2 separate regions of the Homo sapiens genome follow, and region 1 is linked to region 2. Evidence: promoter capture Hi-C in 16 types of primary human blood cells and fetal thymus (Javierre and others, 2016). All regions are on one chromosome and are shown on one strand. The core of a region is centred on a gene start or on the middle of the fragment in contact, and the rest is flanking DNA. Distances in the headings are between cores, read along the strand shown. Region 1 has its middle 52 kb from the start of SKA1. Region 2 holds the start of LIPG (lipase G, endothelial type).

Region 1 (6,610 bases), core at 3,365-5,864, 870 kb after region 2:
TTCCAAGTAGAAGGAACAGCATCTAACATAGCCATAAATGACACATATACAGGTGAGAATCCAGGAGTATGCCCAACCTTCAAGTGTATCTTATACTTACCCTTTTCTTCCCTGCTTAAGAGAGCATGTAGAAGAATATAAAGTGAGCAATAAGTCATTGTAGGGATAAATATGAATCTGCTCTAACTTTTTAAAAAGATAAATCGTAAATTATTTACAAGTTTTCTGTTAACTGAGAGTCCAGATATGATCCCACAGACATGCACTTTCAAGATGATTTAATGTTCCAGACAGTGTCTTATGCATAGACATTCATAAGGAAACAAAAAAGTCATAAGGGGCCAGGTGTGGTGGCTCATGCCTGCAATGCCAGCACTTTGGGAGGCCGAGGCAGGCAGATCACCTGAGGTCAGGAGTTCGAGACCAGCCTGGCTAACATGGTGAAACCCTGTCTTTACTAAAAATACAAACAATTAGCCAGGCATGGTGGTGGGTGCCTGTAATCCCAGCTACTGGGGAGGCTGAGGCAAGAGAATCACTTGAACCCGGGATGCAGAGGTTGCAGTGAGCTGAGATCACACCACTGCACTCCAGCTTGGGTGGCAGAGCAAGATACCTTCTCAAAAAAAAAAAAAAAAAAAAAAAAAAAAGGCCAGGTGCGGTGGCTCACGCCTGTAATACTAGCACTTTGGGAGGCTGAGGCGGGTGGATCACGAGGTCAGGAGATCGAAACCATCCTGGCTAATATGGTGAAACTCTGCCTCTACTAAAAAATACAAAAAATTAGCCAAGCGTGGTGGCAGGCACCTGTAGTCCCAGCTACTTGGGAGGCTGAGGCAGGAGAATGGTGTGAACCCAGGAGGAGGAGCTTGCAGTGAGCTGAGATCACGCCACTGCACTCCAGCCTGGGTGACACAGTGAGATTTCATCTCAAAAAAAAAAAAAAAAAAGAAAGAAAGAAAGAAAGAAAGAGAAAAAGTCATTAGAGAATGCACTGAAGCAGGAAATGTGAAAAAGAAAAACAAATTTTCCTCTCTCCTTTGGTATGAGTAAACGTCCCCCACAAAATTCCTCCCCACTCCATGTGGTTGTACTCTGCTCTGCAAGTTTTATGAGTTTATGGATTCCTATTTTCTGTAACTAGTGACTGTAAATTTCTGTTTTTCATCTGAGTAGCACAGTGAAGGTCATGAGACATGCCTGAGCAGGACTGGACTGCAGCCATCTAGGCACCATAGTGAAGGATATGAGATAAGCTTGTGCAAGGCTCTTGAGCAAGCTGAGATAACAGCCATCTGGGCCGCATAGCAAGAGTCACATGAAAGCCTGAGTTATGAACCTGTCACAGTTTGATTAACTGCCTTTGTTCTGCTTCCGTACACTTGCTTTCATGCCACTGCACTCCACGCCACTGTAAACTTGTTTCAAACTAGCCAACCACCTTTCAGAAGTGTGTATAAAAGTCAAGCCCTGTCTTTGTTCAGAGCCCAGCCTTTGGATGTTAATCCACGGGGCCTAAGTGCATTCAATAAAATCTTCCTGTTCCACCCAGAGGTCTCTCCAGTCTCCTGATTCCCGCAACAGCACCATCTCCCCAAAGGTAATCACCATTAAGAGTGAAAACAAATTCTTCTAGTGTTTTTCCTTTCCAAAAAGATACACATTATCAAATTTACAAAAAGAGCCTTATGTAATACATGTATGACTGGCTTTTAACATGTGATAGATTATAAACATTTTCATGTTAATAAATACTGTTTTATAATATAGTTTAAATACCTACAGGCTGGGTGCAGTTGCTCACACCTGTAATTCCAGCACTTTGGGAGGCCAAGGCAGGCAGATCACCCGAATCAGGCATTTGAGACCAGCCTGGCCAACTTGGTGAAACCCCATCTCTACAAAACACAAAATTAGCCAGGCGTGGTAGCACACTCCTGTAGTCCCAGCTACTCTGGAGGCTGAGGCAGGAGAATTGCTTGAATGCAGGAGGCAGAGTTTGCAATGAGCCAAGATCATGCCACTGCACTCCAACCTCCTGGTTTGATCCCAGGGATCAAAGCCTGGGCAGTAAAGTGAGACTCTGTCTCAAAAAAAATAAATAAATAAATAAAATAAAAAAATAAATACATACTTTCTCATGTGATATATTTAATTAGTTCTGTATTGTTAGGCATTTTGGGTTCTTCCAAATTTTTATAAACATTATATCTCAAAAAAGTCTGTAAGTTGTGTAGATAAATCTTTCTAGCTTTAGAACTTCTATAAGCATTTCTTCCTTTTCTTAGGCTGAATCTGAGACCCACTCATCATACTTTGATTAGGTGATACAACAAAGAAAAATTTGGTTGTGAAAGCAGCAAGAGTAGAAAAAGCATTATGACTTCATTTTTATAAATAAGGCTTTCAATTTATATTTCCATGATAACTTTATCATTTGTTGATATTTATTTACCAAAGTGCTACAGAACTCTTCAAAATATGAAAAGCCATGGGATTTAACCATACAACAAAAATAATAATATTTTAAAATAATGTTTACCATTATATCAGAATGGAATGATTTTAGGTCTGAAAAAAGATGTTTACCATTACAAAACAAAGGAGGGTAATTTTAAAACTTGCTTTCATAATTTGTAATCAAATTTGGTAAAAAACTAATACTTCATGTAAATTCAGGGGGAGGTTGATTCATTCCAAGTTCAGGTTATTTAAAGCATTTAAAACTACACAAATGGCAAACCATTAATCATAATTAAAATAAACATAAATGGGATTGTTTATGGTCTTATGATACCGATTTTAGTTTGGAGCGTCATAAACCATCAGTCTAAATTTACTGTGTCCAAGTAGACTTGACTTGTTGGATTAGAATGTGTAAACTGCTTAAAAACATAATATATTGCCCTCAGGAATTTCAATATTTTTGATGCATATTTTAAAATTGAAATAACTTGTCAGTCTTCTATTTACTGTTGAAAAGTATTTAAATCTTTTTCTATTGTCTTCCTAATTGAAGTCAACCATCATTTAATTTTTCTCCTTAGTGTTTCTGCTTCCCTTACCTTATTCAGTAATAAACTTATTACTGCTGTCCTTATTATAATATTATCACTGATAAGATGAATTTATGGGTGTTGTGGAATTCTCAGTTGATTTCATAAAAGTTTATGACTCCTTTAAAATTTTAGTGAAAAATCCCAAAATATTGTTGTCTTGTTGATGTCCATCTGATTTAGAATTTCTTAATCTCTAGTGCTTTAAGAACTAATGTTTATGCTACTTTGGGATCATTAGTAGTTAGCTCAAAGATGATTTCTTGTACTAGAGATTCTTGATCATCTAGAAGCATCCTTTAAGAAGGATGTTTTAGAAACATACTTAATCTTGAGGGATGTGCTAAACTTTTCTTCATTCCATCTGGGTCCATTCTTGCTGTAGTTAATTGTACTGTTTGGGCAGTTATTGTTGGCTTAGAGCAAATTGGTTCTTGTCATTCTTCTGCTTACCTCTCTGGGCCTCACTTCCCAGGACTCCTTACTCTCTCCACCTGCAGTAAGGCTGAGTCTCAGAATTCAGCTTGAAGGCTGCCCCCAATTCCCTGAAAGCTGGGCCAATTGTCAGTGACCTATGTTCCCAAAGGACACTTTCCTGGTGCTTAGCTCCCTGTGGCTATTGCCCCAGGGGGCCAGGGAGGAGGTGGCAGAGTATTCATCCTGGGGACATAGTGGGAGGCAGGACCACGTCTGAGTTGAGGCTCCAAGTCCCTGGCATGTGCCTCATTGGCTCATCAGACCTCACTTATAAAACACAGATTCCAAGAGAAAATTAGGAAAAATTTTAAGACAGCAACCAGAGAGCATTACTCCAAAAAAGAGGCCCTCTGAGGAGGAGCCAGGGGCTGAGACTGCATTGGCCACTCTCTGAGGAAGCTGGCCCCACACATATTAATTCATTTCATCCTCCCAACAACCCACTTGTACAGATGTGGAAAATGTTACACTGAAAGTAACCAACCAAACATCCTGTTAACCAATAAATGAGTGACTGAGGCAAATGTCTCAATCAGTAGAGGTTTATTGAGCCAAAGTTTGAGGACATGCCCAGGAAAAACACAAGCCACAGAAACATCTGTGACCTGTGCTGTTTCCAAAGAGGGTTTCGGGAACTCAGTATTTAAGGGGACAGAGCAAGCAAAGGGAGGGAGGGTAGGCAGTGAGGCAAATGATTATATTCTGGTAAGGCTCTCCTTCATGCTCAGTAAGTCTACGTTTTATGTAAGATAAGGTGAATATCTGAAAAGAGGGAGTAGAGGCAAGAGTCAATTACACACACATCTCAGGGGAGGCAGAGGAGTGATTGATCTCAGCTTGTCCTTGTTCTACACCTGGGAAGATAAGTTTGTAATCGACATTGTCAGTGTGAGATTTAACAGAACTTGGTTGTAGGAGTTAAACTTAGATTGCAGACCCAAGGTTACCATGGGCATGTGCTTGTTTTATAGGGGGGATATGTCATCTGAAATATTTAGGGGCTAGCAAGGAATTTCCTTGTAATTTGTGAGGGAGGCCATCCAGAGAGTTATATGGCCTTTTGTCATTGTGAGAACCTGGCTTATTTCACAACACAGGGCTGTGAAATTACAGCTATCTGTTCGGGGGGAAAACGAATGGCTGTGTTGTATGACTCAGTTCCCAGGCTTAATTGTCCCTTGGGCATAACAAGTTTAGGGATCCTGAGGTTTTATTTTCTTTTACAATCCCATGTCTTCTAAGTGGCATAGCCAGGATTTGAACTTGGGTAGTAGTACACCCCTATGGTCTCTGCTCTTAAACTTTCTGCTAGCTCACTCCTCCTGTGCTACGTAAGTGAATGCTAGAATTCATAGCTCTAGGAGGCTGGAAGCAAAGGGAAGAAAACCATCTGTTTGTGCTTCTCCTCCATGTGTAACTACCTAGGTGGAGTCTAAGTTACTCAGGTCTTAGGTCTCTGCTGAGGACTGATGGTGTCTCCTGTTTACATCTAACAATGTTAACAATCAGCATGGCCTGGCACATAGCATTGTTCTCCTCATCATCATCAAAAAGAAAAAGTCTTCCCTGTATATATGTGCACATAAAAATATATAATATATATTTATATAAATTACTCACATATTTAAGAACGTGTAACATTTAAAAAAAAAAACAAAAACCTTTGCTGTATTTTAAAAAAATAGATCTGTATTGCCCTCTAGTGGCCATGAAAATTTAAACGGTGGGTAACCCTAAAAGAGAATAGCAGCTGTTCAAGTGCCAACCATAAAAACATCAACCCTACTACCTCCATATATTGCTGGGGTGCAAACAGGCATGCTCACAGCGACCAGGTAGGTGATGTCACAGGGAAGTGGGCTGGGACAACATGGAAATGGTCCAACACTTCCCTCTCCAAAGGGGGAACCTCTACTGAGTTCCAGCTTATGGCTGCCCTGAAGAAGACGGGCCAGTTGCTAAAGAGAAGCTCCAGAACCAGGTATTTATGTAAGAGTGCCCAATGTTTCAGTGTAGGAAATCAACTAATTTTTAATTCCCAGTCTCTGGGTGTGTCATTCACATTTCTGTGGGTTAGATTTAGGCTGCAAGTCTAGCCACTTGCTCATATGTGCTGGACAAAACTTACAGGAGGCCTTTGTTTTGGATTAGGCCCCAGCAGACCAAACCAAAATGGAGTCACTCATGCTAAGGTTACATATCACCAAGCTGAAAATAAGTTGTTTATCTGACCTTCTGAGAAATCAGGAGAGAGAGAGAGAATGGCCAAATCCCCAAACAGACCAGTCCCAGCCAGCATAAGGAAGTCCCCTCTGCTTTAACATTTTTTTTTTACAAGGAAAGTCGCTTTGAAATGACCAATTTGCTTTTTGTTTTGTTTCTGCTTTCCTCAGCCTTTCTTTGTCTATAAACCAATCTCCTCTGCTCAGCTCAGCAGAACAATTATTCTATTTTATGGAATGAAGTGTTGCCTGATTCTAAAATTGCAAATAAAGCCAATTAAAATATTTAAAAATTTGTGGTAATTTTGTTTTTTGACACTTCTGACCTTTGGTTAATTGCTACTTACTGTCTAATGGGCACTGTGCTCAGGGATTTACGTACAGTATCCCCTTTAGCCTGCAAAACAACCCTGTTACAGTTTAGCCCCCTTTCATAGATGAGGCTGAGAGAAGTTACCTGAATTGCCTAAGGTCATGTGGTCTGTGAAAATCAGAGGTGGAATTTGAACACAGCTCTTCCTAACTCCAAAACCCACGATTTTAAGCCCCGCACTTATTGCCCACCATGTGATGTATACGGTCTATTCAGTTAAGAAATATATATGGAGTTCTTAACATATGCCAGAGACTATTCTAGGTGACAAAGATACAGCAGTGAAGAATGCAGCGACTGCCCTCGTTCTAGTGTGGTTTTTGTGTGTGAAGTTGGGGGAGAGGGCCAGTTGTGATACAGGGGAGTAAGAGATGATAAATAAATACATGCCGATGCTGGATAGTGGAAACTGCCGTGGAAACATCAAGTGCTGTGAGAAGATGCAGAATGATGGTGGCTTGTGGTGACAGGGTGGTCAGGTA
Region 2 (6,758 bases), core at 1,188-3,687:
TTACTTATTTATTTATTTGCAAAGGAGTTTCACTCTTGTTGCCCAGGCTGGAGTGCAATGGTGCGATCTTGGCTCACCACAACCTCCGCCTCCCAGGCTCACGCGATTCTCCTGCCTCAGCCTCCCGAGTAGCTGGGATCATAGGGATGCGCCACCACGCCCAGCTAATTTTTTGTGTATTTTTAGTAGAGATGGAGTTTCTCCATGTTGGTCAGGCTGGTCTCGAACTTCTGACCTCAGGTGATCCGCCCGCCTCGGCCTCCCAAAGTGTTGGGATTACAGGTGTGAGCCACTGCGCCCGGCCGGGTTTTTCTTTTTTTCTAGGCAGGATAACTAACTTTGCAGGACTACCTTCCAACAATACCCTGCAAAATACCCTAGCTTCCGTGGGGGTATCTCACCTATAACAAAGGCTCTCAAGACACACTCTCCACATTATCCAGTTAATGTTCTAGGGACCATGGCTATGAGCAACTCAGAACAGGGAAGGAGTTTTTTTCTTCTGATGTCCAGGCTGGAGTGTAGTGGTGTGATCATGGTACATTGCAGCCCTGAACTCCTGGGCTCAAGGACTCCTTCCGCCTCAGCCTCCCAAGTATTAATAGCTTGCACTACAGGTGTACCACCTTGCCTGGCTAATTTAAAAATTTTTTTTGGTAGAGATGAGTGTCTATGTTGCCAGGGTTAGGGAAGAGGACTTTTGACTACAGCTTACCCCCTGCCTCAGCCACTAGACCAGGTTGCCAAGAGCTCACATTTAAAGGTCAATTGGCCAAATTGAACCTAGAGCAGAGAAGAGAGACCTGGTTGTCTTGAGACTTTCTTCAAATCTGCAGCCTGTCCCCATGACTCAGTTTTCCCATCTGTAAAATGGAGATAACATTAGACCTATGTCTGTATAGTTTCCTCATGAAGAGAGAGACAGAGTGGGAACAACATATCCGGGGGTGATATTTACCATCGCACACAGACCATTGAGTTCTATACTAAAAAACTAAAGCCCGCCTGAGTCTTGTTAATGAATGATAGCACACGGGAGGGACAAAGCGTGCTCTGCTGGCAGCTGGAGTAACAAAAGTAATGAGGCGAGGTCGGAACAGGATCTGCTGGCTCCGGCTCGGTTTCCTCGCACAGGTCTCTCCAGCTGGATCCTCGACGCTAGGGAGGAAGGGGCGCGGGACTGCTGTGGGGGTTTTCCCTCCCCAGGCAGGGGCAGGACCTGTTCCGGGCGACTGCAGGGTTAAGGGTATCGTCTTAAAGAGCCGGATCCTCCCGGCTGGAGCGAGGCTGGATGGCGGGACGCAGCCTCTCAGCCTCTCGTACCCGCCCTGCGTCCGCAGTGGTTGTTGGCGCAGCCGCCCCGTCGGTGTTCCGGGCTCAGTCCCCGCTCCCCAGCGCCAGACGCAGACTCCGGGCCAAGTTCTCCCTCCGCTCGCTGCTTTCTGCCGCAGGACCCGGATCAATAAAGGGAAGGAGAGCCGGGAGGAAATGATGGAGAACAGAGAGAAAGGAGATGCTTGATTTCACTCGCCAAGGAGTGAGTGCTCATCGGCAGACACTGGGCTCTGGCCACGCGTCTTAGACTCCAAATCTCGGCTCACTGGTCCCTTTGAGGAGGTCGCCTGGTGTTCCCGTAGCCCTCCACCCCACCGTAGGAGAGCGCCTGCCACGAGCTCCGCGCCTCGCTAAGTGCTTTGCTACGTGAACTCTTAGTTTTCCCAACATCCCTAAGCCGCCGATACATTATCACCCACGTATTGCGGACGAGAGAACCGCCTCGGAGAAGCTGGCTGGCTCGCTTGGAGTTTTGCAGCTAGTGGCGGAGCGAGCATTCCGAGCAGGTACTGTGCGATCCTCCAGCGCCGGCCGCAGCTCACAGCCCCTTAGCTCCGCCGGGTTATTGTGCGGCCGCGCCTTCTGCACCTGTTGCGGCCCTCGCTAGGCGGGAAGGGAGGGAGAAGAGGAGGACAAAGGGGATGACCAGGTGGCTCTCCCCCGACGGACTCCCGGCCCAGGGAGCGGATAGACCACTCCCAGAGAGAGTGTGGCTTTGAGCCTTGGAGAGGATGCTCTCCTTCTCCAGGGATCGCCTCCCCAGCGGACGCAGAGTTTCAGGGAAATGTCCGCCTCCGCCACTTGGGATGGCAGTGGGGAGAGGAGGATCTGGGTGTCCGGAGGAGGGCAGTGGGAGAAAGCTGGAGCTGCTGGAGTCGCAGCTGCCTGCGGAGCGGGCCCGGGAGGAAGCGGGGCCGAGCGTGCGGCGTCCACGCGGTGAGTGTGCAGCGCTTTCATTCAAACTTTCTCCAGTCTCGGTTCCGGCGTCAGCAAGGTGTGACCAATCAGAGCCCAGAGACGGGAATAAATTATGCAAATCACCATCTGGCGATGGGTCAGATGACTCCCATACTTTTAAAAACTACCTCTATAGGAGCGTGACAGCAGCGAGTCCTTGCCTCCCGGCGGCTCAGGACGAGGGCAGATCTCGTTCTGGGGCAAGCCGTTGACACTCGCTCCCTGCCACCGCCCGGGCTCCGTGCCGCCAAGTTTTCATTTTCCACCTTCTCTGCCTCCAGTCCCCCAGCCCCTGGCCGAGAGAAGGGTCTTACCGGCCGGGATTGCTGGAAACACCAAGAGGTGGTTTTTGTTTTTTAAAACTTCTGTTTCTTGGGAGGGGGTGTGGCGGGGCAGGATGAGCAACTCCGTTCCTCTGCTCTGTTTCTGGAGCCTCTGCTATTGCTTTGCTGCGGGGAGCCCCGTACCTTTTGGTCCAGAGGGACGGCTGGAAGGTAACGTGAATTTGTTTTTATTCCCCCCAGCCACTTCTCTGTGCTGGGTCCCCTCTGTCTTGCTGATTCTTCAAACCCTCCTTGTTCCTATGAAATTCTTCCTTTCCCACTGCGCTGCCCATTCTCTCCTCCAATCCACCTTGGAGTCCACCTGTCTCTCTGCTGGTCTGATGGGGGCATTCCCGGCAAGTCATGCAAAAGGCAAAGGCTGGCAGGGTGCGCTGGCTCTTGCCAGCCCTCCCACCCCCACCTCCTTCCCTTATACGGCTCCCTAAGCCAGTGCTGGTGCTGTCCAGCCAGCCGAGCGGCCTGGCAGCAGCTCTGAAACCTTGTCCTCATGCCTGAACCTGGAGGTTTGAGAGGCAAGAAGGCTGTCAGAGCTGTGTCTCCTGGAGCTGCCTTTTAATCTTGGTGTAGGTGTCTTGAAAGTTCAGGTGGCAGGGTAGCTGGCTTTGGTTTGATTCGTGCTTGCAGGGAGCGTCTGGTGGGTCGCTTGTGCTTAGAAGCTGCCGGGCCTATTCCCCCAGGTTGCCAGCCTTTTCCTCTTCAACACTCTTGTGCTCCCCCGACTCTTCCTCTTCCCACTCCTCCTCCCTTTCCTCCTCCTGGCTTTTAGCTTCTCTTCCTCTTGGGTTCTGTATGGCAGCCTTTGCCAGTGGAGGCAGCTTGCCCTGGGGGAGCCAGAGTCAGTCAGCTCTGGGGGAGTCAGAATCAGAGTGAGAACTAAGTCAGCTGATAAGCAGTGGAGGGCTGGGGAGCCTCTAAACTGAACCCCATCATCTCATCTTCTAGTCTGCTGAGGTTGTGCCAAATGGTCTGTGTGGGCTTGTGTATGTGTGGGAGGGTTACTGTGAATGAATGGAAAGCCTTGCTTTACTCAACATGTTTCCAACTCTGGTGCTAACTAGAAGCATTGCCTAGGGCAGGTCTCATCTCTGGCTCCTCACCTGTAAAATGCTAAAGTTCCTTCTAACTTCTGTGTTCTGGGCCTCTGAGTATGTGTGAGTCATTTCCTTCATTGCAAAAAGTATTTACTGCATACCTACTTAGTGTCAGACACTATTCTGGGAGCAGGGGAGAGAGCAGTGGACAAAATAGATGGCAATCTGTGCCCTTGTGACACTTACATTTCAGTGGTGGGAAGACAGACAGTGCACTGATTAAAGTATCAGTGGTGCTCAGTATTATGGAGAAAAATCAAGCAGAGGAGGAAGGTGGGGCATGTTGGTGGGGGAAGGTGGTGCGATTTTATGATGTGGTCAGGGAAGGCCTTTCTGGAGAAGTTGACCATTGAGCAAAGAGCTGAAGGGGGTGAGAGAAGGAGCCATGAGGACATCTGGGTGAGGAACAATCAGAAAGTCCCAGAGGCTGAAGTGACCCAGGCCAAAAGTAGTAGGAATGTACCTAGAGAACTTTGGGGTCAGAGCAGGTCAGACTCTAAGAGGAAGAGTCTTTGTCCATATGTGGGTTTATCCGCAGATCTGTCTCAGGAATCCAGGAGACTTCTTTTCTCCTAGGTTTCCCCATCTGGCCTCTGCATGAGTGGCTATCTGGGTAGAAGGTGGGGAGTTGTCGAACTCATTATGTCCGTGGTTCAAATTTCTGCTGGTTGGGGCTTTTGTTCATTACTTTCATGACGGTTAACCTGACTTCCGCTCATGTGCATTCAGCAGCATTTTCTGGAACCTTATCCCTCTTACATCTGCTGCATTCTTCCCCCTCTCTCCCTCCTTTCCCCTCCGCCCTCTCCACCACTATATCTCTTTCCTTTTGGTATCTTCTTCCTTTTGCTTCTTAACTCTGAGATAAATTAACTCCAAGATGGTCATTTGGCATCTTTCCCTGCTGGGTGATAGGAGAGTTTGATACTCTCACTTTCTAGCCAGTTATCCAGTGATGCATCCCAGGATGGCTGAAAGAGTGCTGGGTGGGGTCCATTTATGACTTTCTGAAACGGTGTCATGATGACAGCACCTACTTAGTGTTAAGCCACAGTGGCCATCAGTGACATGAGCTGCACTTTGGGAGCAGGGCCGTCTCCTAGGTGGCACTGTGCATGAGCAGTGAAGCTGGAAGGGGGGATTTTTGTTGCTTTTAGGAGTTTCTCCATGGCTTTAGTCATTTACTTAACAAACCAGATGAATGCCTGGCACATGCCATCACTAGAAAGGGCACTGAGGATGCCTGAGTTTCCCTAGATGGGAACACTAGGGGAAGCCTATTTTCCAGCAGGTCAACAGCCTCTTGCCTCCAATTCCAAAATCCACAAACTCTCAAAATTGGAAAATGTGTTTGGTAACTTGTTTGGCAGCAAGACCTGGCCTTACCTGATCTGAACTTATTTGGCAGCAAAAACCTGGCCTGAGATAACAGGAGGCTATTGGTTATCTTTATATTTGCCCTCAAATGTGAGTGGTTATGTATTCTCTGCAGAAATATTAGGATGTTTGATCCAGGGGGAATAGCCCAGGCCCCACTGGCAGCATTATATAATATATGGTGTATGCTCCATGATGCCTTTCTAAAATCTGAAAACTTCTAAATTCTGAAACTCACCTGGTCCCAAGCATTTCAGAAAAAGAACTGAGAACCTGTACTCTAAAAGTAGGAAGGAAGTAGAACTCCTTTTGATAGGAAAGAAGAGGGAAATGCAAGAGAGAGATCTATTTATTTCAGAGTGACAGTAATTAATACTAGTGACTAATTAATACTCTTTAAGTATAAATGAGATGTCCTTTTTTATAAAATGTTCACAGTTTTTCTGGGAGGTGAAAAGGGAACATTCAGCAGATGTAAAAACCGAAACCCAGATGGCTTAAGCAAATTGCTCACGATTGAACTAGAATCAGACCCCAGGTCTCTCACTCCGCAAGTCTGCTAGATGCACCCACGCTCTGTTCTGTCTCCCCAGATAAGCTCCACAAACCCAAAGCTACACAGACTGAGGTCAAACCATCTGTGAGGTTTAACCTCCGCACCTCCAAGGACCCAGAGCATGAAGGATGCTACCTCTCCGTCGGCCACAGCCAGCCCTTAGAAGACTGCAGTTTCAACATGACAGCTAAAACCTTTTTCATCATTCACGGATGGACGGTGAGCCCGGGGAGGGAGCTCTGCGGCTTTATATAAGATTTGATTCCCTTTGTTTTGGTCAATTAGAAAGAATTCTGGTGTTTCCAGATTCCAAACCCTCTTCCCCCCTTTCCTTGTGGGCTGCTTGTATTTCAGACAGCTGTGAAGAATGTAACGGGCATTCACTAAGGGGCAATCTGGACTCCAGCAGGGTGGTATTAATGATGGCATACAACGGGCTTTCAGAAAGTGGCTCTCCTGAGGGCAGCAGCCCAGCTCCACTGGCTCTTAAGGACCCCTCTAATTACACTTAATTACGCTGGTCAACCACTGCCTGGAGGGGGCTGTCCTGCCGTGAGAGCTGAGCTTAACTAAAGCAACTTGACTGGCTCTGAGAACCTATGAGTAGCCAGCTGGCCTGGATTGCTGACTGCCCTTGGCATAGTGCCCTCCTGTTTGCATAGAGATAGCCCCGTTTAAAGGCACTGGGGCTCTTTATGTGCCCTAGCTGAGCAATTCACATTGAAAAGCCCATGACAAACTTCAACAAAAAAGGGCTTTAGTGCTCAGCTTCAGAAGCTTTTGACCAGCCAGGAATTTATTCATTCATATAATGACAGTCTGTAGGGAAATGGCACTATTAAGTGAGCAGATTTCTGCCTGGGCTAATTGGAAGGGGACAGTCCTCCTCTTAATGATGAGAAATTCATATCTGTTACATGCTTTTGGGGTCTTTAAATCTGTCATCCATGGTTGAGGTCAGGGGCAGGAGAGGGTAGGTGCCTGCCTACCTAGTTGAATGAAGAGATGATTAAGAGCCTGTCTAACCCTGCTCATCACACAACCTACAATCAGAATCATATGTGTGAATCTTTTTAAGGCCCCCTGTCAAAATGCAAA

What was found. Contacts are between HindIII fragments. The CHiCAGO score rates a contact against its expected background, and 5 or more counts as called.
Region 1: a contact is called between a fragment that was not itself captured here and the fragment with the promoter of LIPG in region 2, in 1 of 17 cell types (total B cells). The highest score is 5.5, in total B cells.

Annotation. Positions count from the first base shown.
Region 1 is chr18:50,424,052-50,430,661 of GRCh38, forward strand. No RefSeq gene overlaps it. Among named protein-coding and RNA genes, the nearest start is that of SKA1, 52 kb to the left of the region's middle. RefSeq lists a cis regulatory region at 1,004-1,624. The HindIII fragment of the contact is 6,721 bases long and covers 1,255-6,610 here.
Region 2 is chr18:49,559,620-49,566,377 of GRCh38, forward strand. It overlaps LIPG (lipase G, endothelial type), which reads left to right and starts at 2,438. Exons shown (of 10, transcript NM_006033.4): 1 at 2,438-2,786; 2 at 5,698-5,879. The coding sequence starts at 2,690. RefSeq lists an enhancer at 2,645-3,145. The HindIII fragment of the contact is 7,229 bases long and covers 1-6,435 here.